3 separate regions of the Homo sapiens genome follow, and regions 1 and 2 are each linked to region 3. The links are contacts of gene promoters, found by promoter capture Hi-C in blood cells and fetal thymus (Javierre and others, 2016). All regions are on one chromosome and are shown on one strand. The core of a region is centred on a gene start or on the middle of the fragment in contact, and the rest is flanking DNA. Distances in the headings are between cores, read along the strand shown.

Region 1 (4,342 bases), core at 589-3,088, 730 kb before region 3:
AAATGTCATCTACTAGCTTTATATGAGCTGGCTCATGTTGTCTGGAGGAGAAATTTGTTATGGCTACCAAGAAAAATTATAAAGTTTTCAAAGATTTATATGATCAGTGTAACTTGAGGGATTCAAGCATATTTTATGAGTTATATTTCTCCTCAAAAATTAACATATTAGTCTTGAAAAATAGATATTATCAATTTAACGTCAAGAAAGAATCATGTGTGCCAGCTGATAATTCACATTAAAAATAGCAAACTGTGATACCAAACGAAGAATAATGATAATGGTGAAGATAAATTTTATGATATGCCAGAAATGGTTCTAAGTTGTTTCATGTGTGTTATCTCATTTAATTTTCAAAACAATCCTATGAGGTAGATACTAGTATTACTATCATATATGGATGATGGAAGTGAAGCAGAGAGGTTGGTATCACGGTGACACAGCTCGTATTTGGTAGAACAGTATTAGACCATAAGTCCAGAGCAAAAACCTTAAAGATGAAGGATCTAGATACACAGCTAGCTAAACTGCAGTGAGAGAAAACTGAGGAAACGGAGAAAACAAAGATAAGCAAACTACATGTAAAAAACATGTCCTTGAAGAAAAGTATAAAAAGAGACAAGATACAAGCTAAAGATGGTTAGATGATCAAAGATTTTATATACAAAATCTTATATAACCATATATACATATTTGTTGTTGTTTTTTAAAGAGCAAGATGTGGACATATTTATTGGCCAAAGAACCTAAAGGTACCCACTAGGGAACAAATAATTTACAAAGCAGGATAATTTAAGAGGCACAAAATGAGGGATCAAAGCAGAGGAATGATTATCTCCTCCTTGAGACAGGAGAAGTGGGAAAGAATGAATGGGAGGAGAGAGGAGCGATGCTTCATTAAAGGCAAAAGGGAAGAAGGGAAGGTGCATGAAACCAAGAACACTCATGCACAGCTTCTTCTTTCAGTGACCCACACAGTGGAGGGCATCAGAAGAGGAAGCAGGGGTGCCTAGGGACTCACGAGGACCATGAGCATTTGGAGTGGCAAAGGAAGTCAAAAGACAAATTGCTTGCCTAGCAGCACTGAGGATCCAGCTCATGCTGGAAATTATTTATCTGTAATAGCACTAATCCATAGAGTTGTGCTATTTTTTGTTATATAGAGTAACTGCATGTGTCACAATGGTTGTACTATTTTTAAGGTAGCACTTGGACAGCACAGGTCCAAAACTGGTGAGGTCAGGACACAGGACTAATCCAGGACTAGCAGACAGAGAAGGTAAATGTGCAAAGAGGAGAGTAGTTTGAGGGGGTCAGAACGTTCCTGACAAAGCAGTCAGACCATAGGGTTCAAGTTGGTTTGGGAAAGAAGTTAAGTCAGGAGGCAGCTGATGAGAATATCGAAGTGAAACCTAAGAGGAGGGATAGTGGAAAGAAGAATGGTAGCAGGCATGAGGCAGTGTGGCTGTGGTGGAAGGAAAGGTGGTTAGAGTCAGAAAGTGGAGCTCTAGACAGCTGCAGGGGCAGCTCAGTTATAAATGACAATGCATGGACAGAAATGGACCTGGGAGGGACTGCAGACAAAGGAGATGAGGCAAGGAGGGGAGAAAAGAGTTCAAAGACAGTGGGTTAATGCATCTGCCACATTCCCCACCACTACCACCTCCTAATTCACAGAGGTTACTAAAAGCAATACCAAGCTGTTTTCTTTCTTTCTTAGAAAAAAAGAGAGATGGAGTCTCAGTATGTTCCCCAGGCTGGTCTCAAACTCCTGGGGTCAAGTGATCCTCCCACCTCTGCCTCCTGAGTCAGTGGAATTACAGGCATGTGCGATCATGCCCGGCTTCCGAGCTGTTTTCCTAAAATTACCTGTAGAAAGTATGATGCTCCACGCACACTTTCCATAGTCTTTTCGCTGCCCGGTGGTTTGGCAGTTTGAATCCAATGGTACTCTCAAACTGTTCCAGCTGGAATAAATCCGTAAAACAAATCAGCATATTTCCTTAAGAACTGACTAGAAGTTACTGAAAAGCATGCATTCAGATGTTTCTGTGAGAAGCAATTATTCTTCTCAAAAAAGGTAAATATTGCATATCTAATATAATCATATAAAGATGAATTTCATAGACTGCAATACTATTTTCTACAAAAAGCAAGTAACAACGGCTCACATAAACCAACTATCCTTCAATGTTCACTAAAACTCATCTTATTGCTTTCCTAATGATCACAACTTAATTGATTCAACAAGAAAAAACGAGCCCACACCTTATCACATTTTCTTTTTTGTAAAAAGCGTGATGGTTGCTTTTTTTAAAAACAGACCAGACGTATATATACTGCAATTTTACCATTAAGAACCCTGACCTTTTACAATGGAAGAATAAATAGTTTATTTTCTTAAAATTTTAGAATTAATAGAAAAGAATTTTTAAATTCATGGTCGTAAACAGGCCGACTAACAACAACTGATTAGAAATGTCTTGGCTTACCTCTGCCGGTCTGACTTTAATGTAGAAGTTACTGCGTTTATAGGAAATTTTTAAGATTTTCGGCCAAGCAAAACGATTGATTCGCAGTCTGTCTTTGTAAATGAGAAGTCCATTAGCACACACGCCCAGCTTGATGTCCACACCTTCTGAGTCCTGCCAAGCATAACCCAATTAACCATGGTTAAGAGCTGTGAAAGTTACACAAATCAAGAAGCTAATTAGCTCCCTCAAATCATGATCAGGAATGACAGTTTAACAGGTTTGTATTTAAAGTTTAGTGACAAGTACGCACGTTAATGAAAACTATGGCGCACACACATACATGTTAAATTTATTCATCTTCAGGGATCAGGTGTGATTTGCCGAAGAGTTACGGCAACATGACCATAAGACACAGTGTCCTTCAAAAGGCGTAATGCATATGTTCTCAAGCTCCACTGTAGGAGCTAACAGAGAAGAAAGGAAGCAGAACTAGAGATCCTGAAGATACGGGAAATAAAATGAGCTTTTCCCGTAGGCTAGTCCAGCCTCAGGGACAGTCTGTTGGCCTACCCTAAGATGTGTTCAACCATTTTCCTTTAGGTGCATTTACCTCAGATGGATTACCCTAGCTAATAGCTCTTAAAATTATGCCAATATTTTGCAAAACACCAATCCCTTGCAGATAATTTCTCTTCCAGGCTGACAGTGCTGAAATCTCTGAATTCTTTCAAGCAGTTTTTCATTAACTTAGAATGCTGACATCCAGTTCTCATTAGGCATTCCTTTGGCTGGCACGTTTCAAAGGACTGCAGACTATTCTTGAAGTTATTAATAGTTTTCTTTCCCTAGAGCTTTAATCTGGAATCGATGACAATCTAGAATAATCACAGGCCTAAATTATGTTTTAAAAACCAAACAAATTTACAGGCAAAAGTGAAAACCTGTCTCCTCACATTTCAAGTAGTGAAGATCTAAGATGCATGTATTCAAAACATACAAATTATTGTTTATCTCTAAGAGGAGAGCTGGCTCTCATTCAACATATGTAAAATTGAAGACTACCGCTCAAAGACATTCACATTTTCAGAAATCACAAACAATACGAAACAAATTCTCACAAAAAATGTTGCAACAAACCCCATATTTAGTCTAACTCCCAATTTAATAAAAGGACATTTTGTCTATCTTATTACTCAGAACATTTTGATACCATTTAAATCAGTTTTTTATAAATAAAAGTATAGTATTAGCTAATTGATGCCAGTTGCTTTCTCTGCTGTGACACTTGAGTAATTCATATATACAAATAAAATTACATTAGACCAACTTGAGCCATTTTAAAAAATCCAATCAATTGCTTTACTCACCCTTATCTTGGCAGCCACAACTCTCTCTAGGAATAGACTAAAAAGCTGGGGTGAATCAGGCACAGGTGCCCAAGCAACTTGGCACCAGACCCCATGGTGTGTTTGCCAAAACCATCACTGCCCATGGCCACCGGGAGCAAGGCAGAAGATTGCCCGAGACGGCATGTTCTTACCACAAGTGGGGAGGCAACCCGCATTTGAAACATTGAATGAGCCATCTCTAGTCTGAAGCAATCTTTGGACAGGACAAGGAAGCTATTTTATCTGACTTAAAAATAGACACAACGCAGATTCAAGTAAATCAGTTGATTTTTGTTGTTCTATGTAATTATTTTAGAATTACCAGTATTTGTGTGAATAGAAACGACAGATGAAGGGTAGGAAGTGAAAGAGGAAAAGGCAGGCCTTGATCCTTCACATGTAAGTTATGCCACATGGTATCAAAATCAGAAAAATAAACTAATGGAAAGGAGCACCTTCTCTGCATTGCTCACTGCTCCA
Region 2 (4,945 bases), core at 1,632-4,131, 750 kb before region 3:
TAATAATTTTAAACATCTCCACTAAAATGTCAAAGTTTCCTACTGCAAAAATCCAAGGACATCACTTTAAATTTGATCGAATGATACCATGTGATTGCTTCTGAAGGACAGGTTATGAAAAATACGTAATATTTCAAAGCATGTGATATTAAAGTCCTCATTATACACATGGAGTCTAATTGGCTTTGGTTTCAGGCTAACCTTTAAAGTATATAAATATGTCACTTGGTTTAGCTTCATGACATTATCTTTCTCATTTGCAATGTTCTGAAAATATTTCATCTCAACTAGACCATAAACTCCTTATTTCTACTTATTTTGCCTCCTTTCCCAACCCTGCTACGTGTTCTGATGAATACTCTCTACCAATTAACAGAATCTACTTTGTGGAAGGGAATCACTGTTTCCTTATTAATAATCTCTGTTCTCATTCACAGCCCCTATAATCTATTCCTCATCCAGTGCCAGGGGGACTTCTGTCAGAAACAGGTGGGATTCTGCCACTACTCACCTTCAAACTCTCCAATGCTTTCCCATCATTCTTATTGTACAATTCCAAACTGTTAGCATGGCCTTTAAGATCGTGACATGACCTAGGGTCTAACCTCTTTGAATTTTCCTTCCTTCGTGCTCCCCCTTGCTCACCAAGCCCCTGTCATTTGGTCTTTCAGTTCCTGTGTTGTGGCTCGTCCTTACACGTGGATACATTTTCACATGTCCACCTGGTTATCATTAAGGTTTCAACTCAAATGTCATCTCCTCCTGACCACAATGACAAAACGGTCTTCCTAATCCCCTCCTAACACAACATTGTATTTCACCTTCTTAACATTTACTTCCTAGTGTCTGAAACTTTCCAAGTACCAATTAGAAAATTTTCTAATCACCAGCCGGGTGTGGTGGCTCACGCCTGTAATCCTAGCACTTTGGGAGACCAAGAAGGGCAAATCACGTGGTCAGGAGTCAAGACCAGTCTGGTCAACATAGTGAAACCCCGTCTCAACTAAAAACACAAAAAAATTAGCCAGACTTGGTAGCAGGCACCTGTAATCCCAGCTAAACAGGAAAGTTGCTTGAACCCAGGAGATGGAGGTTGCAGTGAGCCAAGATCATGCCATTGCACTCCAGCCCGGGCGAATGTGCAAGAGTGCATCTCAAAAAAAAAAAAAAGAAGAAAGAAAAAAAAGAAACTTTTCTAATTAACTATTTCCATGTCTCCTCCACTAGACTCCAAGCTCTCCAGTCCCAGCAAATAACAGACTGACCACCTGGCTAAGTAAAATCAGTAGAAAGAGAAGAATGAGGATGTAAAAGCAATGGAAAGTGAACTTCCTCACCAGTGTCAGAAATGTCACACATGCAGGAGCAGAGAGAGAGGTGAGGGGCTGCTATGGTGCATCAAAATCTTTGTTCCCATTAAAAATCTTACAAGTGAAAACTCAAAAGGTTTCCATATGTAATTAGTAAACTCATCATCTAAGGCACATAAGTGGTTATTTTAACAACACGACATGCATAAGTATTGTACAAACAGTGCACTTTCACATGAAATCAGTTTCCCAACTGTCAGCCACATACATCAAATTAGGAATCAGTTATCACCTAAATTGGTTGATGTTTCTGTATTTCAAATTTTGACTTTTCAAGTGCTTCTGCAATATGGTATTTCTCATCCAACAATCCTATGCTTCTATACACAGGGGATTTAACTTTTTAAATGCTCAAAAATCATTTCAAAAAAATTTTAGTATGACACACAGGAAAAAAGAAATCTTATGGCTGTGGATAGAAACAAAAGGAAAGGGGGAAAAAGCAAGAGTAGATCCAAGGGTGCAAGGTGAACACCTTGTCCGTCTCCTGAGCTTTTTCTTCAACTGTCCATATTGTCGGCATCAGGTACTTCTCCTTCACGGATAAAATATCCTTGAAAAGATGGTCTCCTTTTCTCTATTGTTTTAAACAATAGACATAATCAACAAATAAGACACATACATTACACCTATAGCAACACAAACACAAAATACTGACCCAGTGTGGGTCAATGACACACACCAGGAGAAGTGGCACATAATGGAAGGTGAAAACCTTGGCATGGCATCAGACCCTTTCTCCAGAAAACACAACATTCTGGAATAGACTGCTGAAATTGACATTTTTTATCATCTTCAGAAAAATCTGAAACTAAGAACTGAAGTTGTATTCAACTTCATAAGACTCTACCAAGCATGTCTTAATATTTTCAAAAGTTCTGTGTTTCAGTTCAGCAATTCTTTTTGCTCATCTGTTCTTAAAGAGCTTTCTTTTTCAATGGCACAAACTTAGAAATTTAAAGCAACTAACAGCTTTTCTTTTTAAGGAAAGGTGAATAAAAATAGCACTAGAATATCTAAATCAATGTCTACAATTTGGCAACATTCAAGCCAGACTAGATGCTGAAAGGAAAAAGATGAAATTGTAGGGTAACATCTTTATACCATTTTTTAAACTACAGATTAAATATAGTATGATCACTGTCCGCTCAAGTATGATAAACGAGCCCATGGAAGTTCTTGGTCAATAACAGGAGGGATTTGGAAGAATCCTAGAGGCACAGATGTGGATGACAATGAATGGAGAAATGTATTGAGAATATATCCTGAAGGCAATATGTACTCATATCAGTGGTGGGGAGAAGTAAACCATGAAAAGAAATAGAGTAAGTGAGGAGAAATGTTATGATTGAAAAAACGTTTTTAAAACACAATTCTAACATTTCATTATAAGGAAGTTTCAATACTAAGTCATATTATATATAATATTTTTCAAGCTTTCAACAGGGCTCATCGGTCTTTAAAGCTAAGTTAAACTCATTTTCCTCACAGTAATAACTTTAAACCACTCTAAAGATAGCCTATATTTCTTTATTTATTAATTATTTATACTAAGTAAATGTCCCTATTTCAGATATCAGTAACTAAAAAGCTTATTAAATACAGTATGTTAGTTTCTAAATTGTCCTATATAACAATTCATTACTACAATTTACCTGAGTAAAATAGTGAAATTATCCTAAAACTATTTCAAAAGTATTTTGAAACTCATGCAATTTACCTAAGAACTAGGCCAATAACTATTACATTGTTAATATTTAGTATTTACAAAATTGTTAGTAATTACATAAAAATAATTAAATGGGAACATTTTGTAACTTCCCTAGACTCAACATAGAGATTAACAATTTAAGTTTTATTGAGCAACTGAAGTGAGACAGAGCCAACAAATAGCTAATGACATACCCCTTGTGTCTGTAGGGACAGAGGTGTGATACGTCGTTTTTCCCATTCATTAGGGCGCGGCTCAGGTGTGGATTCCATAAAATTGCGCTTGAGTTCACTAATGCTAGCCTGATGTTTCAGTATGTCCTCCTGGGCCTTATCCAGTTCCTAGCAATATGTAACGTAACAAAGGGGGGAAAAATCCAAAAGGAAAAAACCCAGTAGGACAAAAATAAAACCAAAAAATAAGACAAAGCAAACTTACGATTAAAAAAAAAACCATAGTAAAGCAAGAAAAATGCCAAGTCTCTAAAGCCATATTATTATCTATGAGTAAGTTCATGAATTCATCAAAATTTGAAAATAAAGTCAATGCGTACTTCTTCAATGATTTACATTTTAAAGGGTTCTGATTTCTTCTCTATTTAGGATTTTTAAAGGAATAATTATTTACATTATCAGAAAGATGACATGGAACTGATCATCAAAATGGCTAATAACACTTCCTTCCAGTACCTGGATTTGAAACTCAGACTATGACTTTGTTCCAGCAAATTTACCTTTCTGATTAGGACTACTCCTAAAATTGCATTCTGTGAATATAGGAAATCAAGTACAAAATAGAGGAAGGTAGAGACTCAGAAGCACACTGGCTGGAAGAAAAAGCCAGACCAGGATCAACCCCCAGCTGGAAAAGCCAAGGTTTTTTGTTTGTTTGTTTGTTTTCAGGAAATTCCAGTGATGGCTTTTAATTCTTAAGGAATAAAAATTACTGCTTCCAGAGGCTGCTTCTGTTTAGCCTCTTTATAGAATAAATAAACCACAGACTGGTCTCATGTACTTGCCAAGCACAAAAGTGGGGTCTAGCCTCCGCAACTGCCAGATCGTCCTTATACAGACAAATATACAAGAAAAACTACCAGGTCCATTTTCATGGGAGCAGGCCCTGATAAATGGTATTTGTGGAATTTTTTTCGACTGGCTCTCATAAATAGTATTTGTTTTAACCAAATTTTAAATATTTATTTATATTTCAAAAATCATAGGGCCACCTGTGGATTATAGCTTTCATCCCACTTTAAGGAACAGGTCATGCAACCAATAAAATTAGATATTCCATATTCATGCACAAGCATAGTAGCTCATCTATGAGCTTCTATAGCCATTTGCAAAAACTCATGAAAATCTAAAAATCTTTGCATGGCATGGAAAAATGACTGTGGCTTGAGATCAGGCACATTTCTTGCATTGGTTCAAAGCAATGTTACTTATTACACTGTACAGCATTTTAGTAAGTTAAGCAAAAATACATTTCCATCAGTTACCAAGCTGCCAAAAGCAACCAAACAGATTAGTCAGATTACTGAGAGCTGCAGTTCTCCATTGAATACATTGCCACATACTACTGTAAAATAAGAAGGGAAAAAAAAATGTTCTCACGTGACACGGGGAACATATTTTACACTTTACATTCATAATTGGGTGATTGGGCTTTCTTTTTCTCCTTTCCTTCTCTCTCACTTTTGCTTGTTCTTTCTAATTAAAATAATTTCTTTAATTAGCATATTCTCAAACAGAATACTGAAAGTGGACCACATTCCCAATCATGGATTTTAACCAAAAAAAACAAAAAAAGTGGGCACAGATCAAGATCAAGAGTCACATGATTTAATGCCAGATCAATAAACAAA
Region 3 (4,489 bases), core at 1,028-3,527:
ACAAAAAATGAGCCGGGCGTGATAGCAGGTGCCTGTAGTCCCAGCTACTCGGGAGGCTGAGGCAGGAGAACGGCGTGAACCCGAGAGGCAGAGGTTGCAGTGAGCCAAGATCACGCCACTGCACTCTAGCCTGGGCGACAGAGTGAGACTCTGTCTCCAAAAAAAAAAAAAAAAAAGAAAAGAAAAAGATAATCTCAAACACTGCTGGTGGAAGCATAAACTAGTATAACCCTTATGGAAAATTTAATAATTTCTATAAAAATTACAAACTGATAAGGCTTTTGACTCAGCAATACTATTTCTAGGAATTTATCCTATTTTTCATGCATAATATTATTCATCACAGCATTGGTTAAATTAGAAAAAGTAAGAAGAAACTTAGAAGACAGTAGAAGATTGGTTAAAAGGAGGAAGGTACAGCCATACAATGGAATATTATGCTGCTATTTAAAAAAAAAAGTAAGAAAGGAAGGAACAAGTAACGCTTGGACTGATAGGGAATTACCTGTAGATTATTATTAGGAGAAAAAAAGTGCTAATTAATGAACAGTGTACATGGTATATGATCATGCTATAAAAGTGTTTCTATATGCATAAAATACTTCTAGAAGAAAACATAACCTGAGGATATTGGCTACAGACAGAAAAAATAACAGGTAAGAGAAGAGAAAGAGACTAGTTATTGGATCCACCCTTTTATACCTGTGCATTTTGAACCATATAAATGTATTACCTATTAGAAAACAACTAAACAAAAAGGTTAAAACATGACTGTATTGGCATTATATGATCCATGTCTGAGTGGCAAATCTTATCACCAGTGGCTGACACGCAAACAGTTCTCATTTCCCTACCTATAGTGTACCATGAGAAGGTAAGGCACTACTGCAATGTGAGCTCTTCGAGGATGACACATTTTTGTCTTTTTCACGGATACATTTTCTGGTAGCTGTTCTTTGTTACTTTTACAGTTTGTCTCCTCATTTTTACTATAATATTTTCCTATCCTTATTATAGAATCTTGGTATTCCTATTGTAGCATCTTTGTATCAATGCTGTGCCAATTCCTTTATTTAGCAGAAAAATGGAATTTGTATCCTTGACAAGTAAAGCTTAACATATCTGTTTTCAAGTGTACCAAATAAATCCGAATAGGATGAAAATGATCTCAATTAATCTAACATAGGGGAGGTTTTTTTTTTTAAACATCTCACACTGTGCAGTATCAACTTGACTTCTCAACACAGGTTTTCCACTGAAATATACAAATTAAAACAAATGGAAGCCAGAATAAAAAATGATAACAATTTTATTTCTCCCTTCTCAGGAAGATCTTAAGAGCAGCATGAAAGTAAATGTTAAAAGAAAAAAAAAAAAAAAAAGAAGAGGCCAAAAATCATCAGCTGAATGTATTAAAAATGAAGCGCTCACCTGAGAAAGACCACCCCAAAACTGTCTGAAGGCCCCCAAACAGCTAATTAGTTTTGTTTTCTCATCTTCAGGAGTATCCATAAACATGCTAAAAAAATAAAAATTACATTATTTGTCATTCGTTTTAAAAAGGTAATTACACACAATCAGAATAGTGGATCTTATAACCTTCCAACACGAAACTAAGTAAAATCTGACAGACACAATCACATAAAAACACAAAACTCTGCCACGCATACACTCACCCAGGAAAAGCCTCTTCTATAACTTCCGTTTTCTGTAAAAAAAAAAAAAACAAAATGTAAACAATGTTAATTTTAAAAAGGCGCCTCCCTTAGCCAAGTATTACAATGTAACACAGGGCAAGTCACCTTAATCAGCTCTGAAACTATCAATACCTGTCTGGCCTGTCACTGTATCGATTTCAAAGGATACAATGAACTTGACAGCAGTTTGAGAATCACTAAACTTCCCCGCATACAACCTCGGTGTCAAAACAAGGGAATAAAAAGGGAGGCGTGAGAGGAGGTTGCCCAGGCCAGTTTCCTTGGTCGGCTGCCCCCGCGTCTCCCCGTCCCCAAGCCGTAGTCCTGGATGGCCGGCAGCTGCACTCACCACCACCTCTTCGAAAATGCTCTGCAGTTGCGTCTCCATCTGTACTATCACCCCCGCCTTTCCAGGGTGCCCGGCAAGGCCCGGATCAGACTCGAGCTCTGGGAATATAGGGGCAGAGGGGCGGAGACCTCTGGAGGAAACCGTAGCTCCTCGGCGTCGCTTCCTCCCCCAGCGCTTTACCTGGAGCGTTCCCTCCCGAGCCCAGCCAACAGCAGGAACCTGTACGGAAGACGGGAAGGGCCCGGTACGCGCCGTTTGCAAACCCCGCAGAAACCAGCGGCGCCACCAGAAGGTTCCGTCTGTGGAGAAGGGCGGCCCGCAAGCCGGACGAGAGCGCCCCCAAACGGAACCTTGAGCCCAAGGACCCCGGAGGCATCGTCGACCGCAGGCCGCCACCTCCCGGCTGGAGAAGGAGTTGCTTCCTGTTCGGGGCTAACCCGCTTGCAGACTGAGAAATGAAAAGTTTGGAACCCAGAAGCTGCAGCCTGCGGAAAATGCTGGAGCCGCAGCCGACACCAAGTTGATGTCTGTGAGCAGCTGACCTTCTGGACCTCCATCAGCGGCCTGCAGCCAGGAGCTGAAGCCACAGAGACGGTGTCTTCTCAGCTATGATAACCTCAGTGCAAATGTAATTGATTGACTTTTGAATGCCAAACCAATTTTGCTTCTATGGTATAAATGCTACTTGGTCATAATATATTATCCTTTTTAATATATTGCTAGATTCTATTTGCTATTATATTGTTGAGAGTATGTGTTTTTCTTCATATGCCACCATCATCACCAACCCCTAAAACATCTGTTATGTCTTGAATGATCAGCTTTCTTTGCCTCATAAAGAAAATTGTTGATGAGAGTCATAGACATCCAAAGGCCTTTCACTTCTTTGACGGTTGTGAAATGCCACAAACTGCTAAGCATGAACTACTCCTTTGTAGCTGCTAAGTGATGAGCTGATGACTCCCCATTCATGGTTTTGTTATACAAGTGTCTGACCTGGCATAAATTTAGTTTTCTAACAACTTTAATATGCACATGCAACCATGTTGTCCACACAATAGCTACTAAAAGCTGAAAAGAAATAATTCAGATTTCCTGCTGGAGAAAAACTTGAAAAGTTAGGCTTAGGGTATTGTTTGCTAGGGTTGCCATAACAAAATACCACAGACTGGGTGGCTTAAACAACAGAAATTTCTTTTCTTGTAATTCTGGAGGCTGGAAGTCTGAGGTTGAGGTTGATAGGGTTAGTTTCTATAGAGGCCTCTGTCCTTGGCTTGTAGATGACCTTCTTCTCCTTGTGTCTTCACATGGTCTTCCCTTTGTACATGTCTGTGTCGTAATTTTCTCTTCCTAGAAGGACATCAGTCAGGTTAGGGCCCATGTATCTACTCTAAAGAGCTTTAGCTTAGTTGAAGACATAGACATTTTAAACCATAATAGAGTGTGATATGTGCAATACTAGTGATGCTAATAAAGTGCCAGGGAGAAAAGGAGGAAATACAAATTTTTCTACAGAAAGGAATTTAGAAAGATACCTAGGGGAGTTTGCTTAGATTGCTGTGAACAGCATACTATAAACTGGGGGGTAATTTGAGTCTGAGCAAACTGAAAGCTGAGAATTCAGGCTTCTTGTTCCATCCTTGTCCTATCAGGATTTAGAGTGGGGGACTAAAGAGCCAACTGGAAACTCTGAGCAGCTGGGCAGGGCTTATCAACTTTGAGCATCTTTATAGTGTGTTCTGGGGACATTGTTTCTTGGAGAATCCCCAAAGTTGGTATCATCAGGTCTTTCCCCTTAGGCTGGTCTGAATCACCAAGGAAGATACATCTAATCTCTTACAAGTGGGTAAAGTTCTGACTGGCTGCCAACCTTCTTGCAGCCAAAAGGAACAAGAAGCCTGATCTCTTACAAGTGGGTAAAGTTCTGACTGGCTGCCAACCTTCTTGCAGCCAAAAGGAACAAGAAGCCTGAGTTCTCAGCGTTCAGTTTGCTGAGACTCGAATCACCCCAGTTTATAGTATGCTATTCACAGCAGTCTGAGCAAACTCACGTAGATATCTTTCTAAATCCCTTTCTGTAGAAAAATTTGTATTTCTTCCTCTTTCCTCCTGGCACTTTATTAGCACTACTAGTATTGCACAGATTACACTATATTATGGTTTAAAATGTCTACTTCTTCAACTAGACTAAAGCTCTTTAGAGTAGATACAGAAATTAAACATGCCTGCATTTCCTAACACCTGGCATAAAGTCTGGTACTTGGTGGTGCTCAGTCATTATTCATTACTTTGGGTAGAATAAAAACATCTGAAGTGCCTTTATTTTATGGACAAGACTTCCTCTGAGGTAATAGCTATTTCTGGAATGCTGGATGTAGAGAAAGATTTGGAACACCTACAAAGTTATACCTAGTAAAGTTATTATAATTTATAACAGTTGGGT

What was found. The method cuts DNA at HindIII sites, captures the fragments that hold promoters and counts their contacts. A CHiCAGO score of 5 or more calls a contact.
Region 1: a contact is called between a fragment that was not itself captured here and the fragment with the promoter of MED23 in region 3, in 4 of 17 cell types (naive CD8 T cells, naive CD4 T cells, fetal thymus and 1 more). The highest score is 7.9, in naive CD8 T cells.
Region 2: a contact is called between a fragment that was not itself captured here and the fragment with the promoter of MED23 in region 3, in 5 of 17 cell types (total CD8 T cells, fetal thymus, monocytes and 2 more). The highest score is 7.8, in total CD8 T cells.

What each region holds. Positions count from the first base shown.
Region 1 is chr6:130,892,475-130,896,816 of GRCh38, forward strand. It overlaps EPB41L2 (erythrocyte membrane protein band 4.1 like 2), which reads right to left. Exons shown (of 20, transcript NM_001431.4): 9 at 2,493-2,645; 10 at 1,870-1,967. Among named protein-coding and RNA genes, the nearest start is that of SMLR1, 67 kb to the left of the region's middle. The HindIII fragment of the contact is 9,496 bases long and covers 1-4,342 here.
Region 2 is chr6:130,874,829-130,879,773 of GRCh38, forward strand. EPB41L2 (erythrocyte membrane protein band 4.1 like 2) reads right to left here. Exons shown (of 20, transcript NM_001431.4): 14 at 3,276-3,422. Among named protein-coding and RNA genes, the nearest start is that of SMLR1, 50 kb to the left of the region's middle. RefSeq lists enhancers at 2,035-2,204, 3,977-4,146. The HindIII fragment of the contact is 155 bases long and covers 2,805-2,959 here.
Region 3 is chr6:131,625,965-131,630,453 of GRCh38, forward strand. It overlaps MED23 (mediator complex subunit 23), which reads right to left and starts at 2,278. Exons shown (of 29, transcript NM_004830.4): 1 at 2,047-2,278; 2 at 1,677-1,708; 3 at 1,432-1,519. The coding sequence starts at 2,085. RefSeq lists enhancers at 1,918-1,967, 2,098-2,267. The HindIII fragment of the contact is 7,493 bases long and covers 1,111-4,489 here.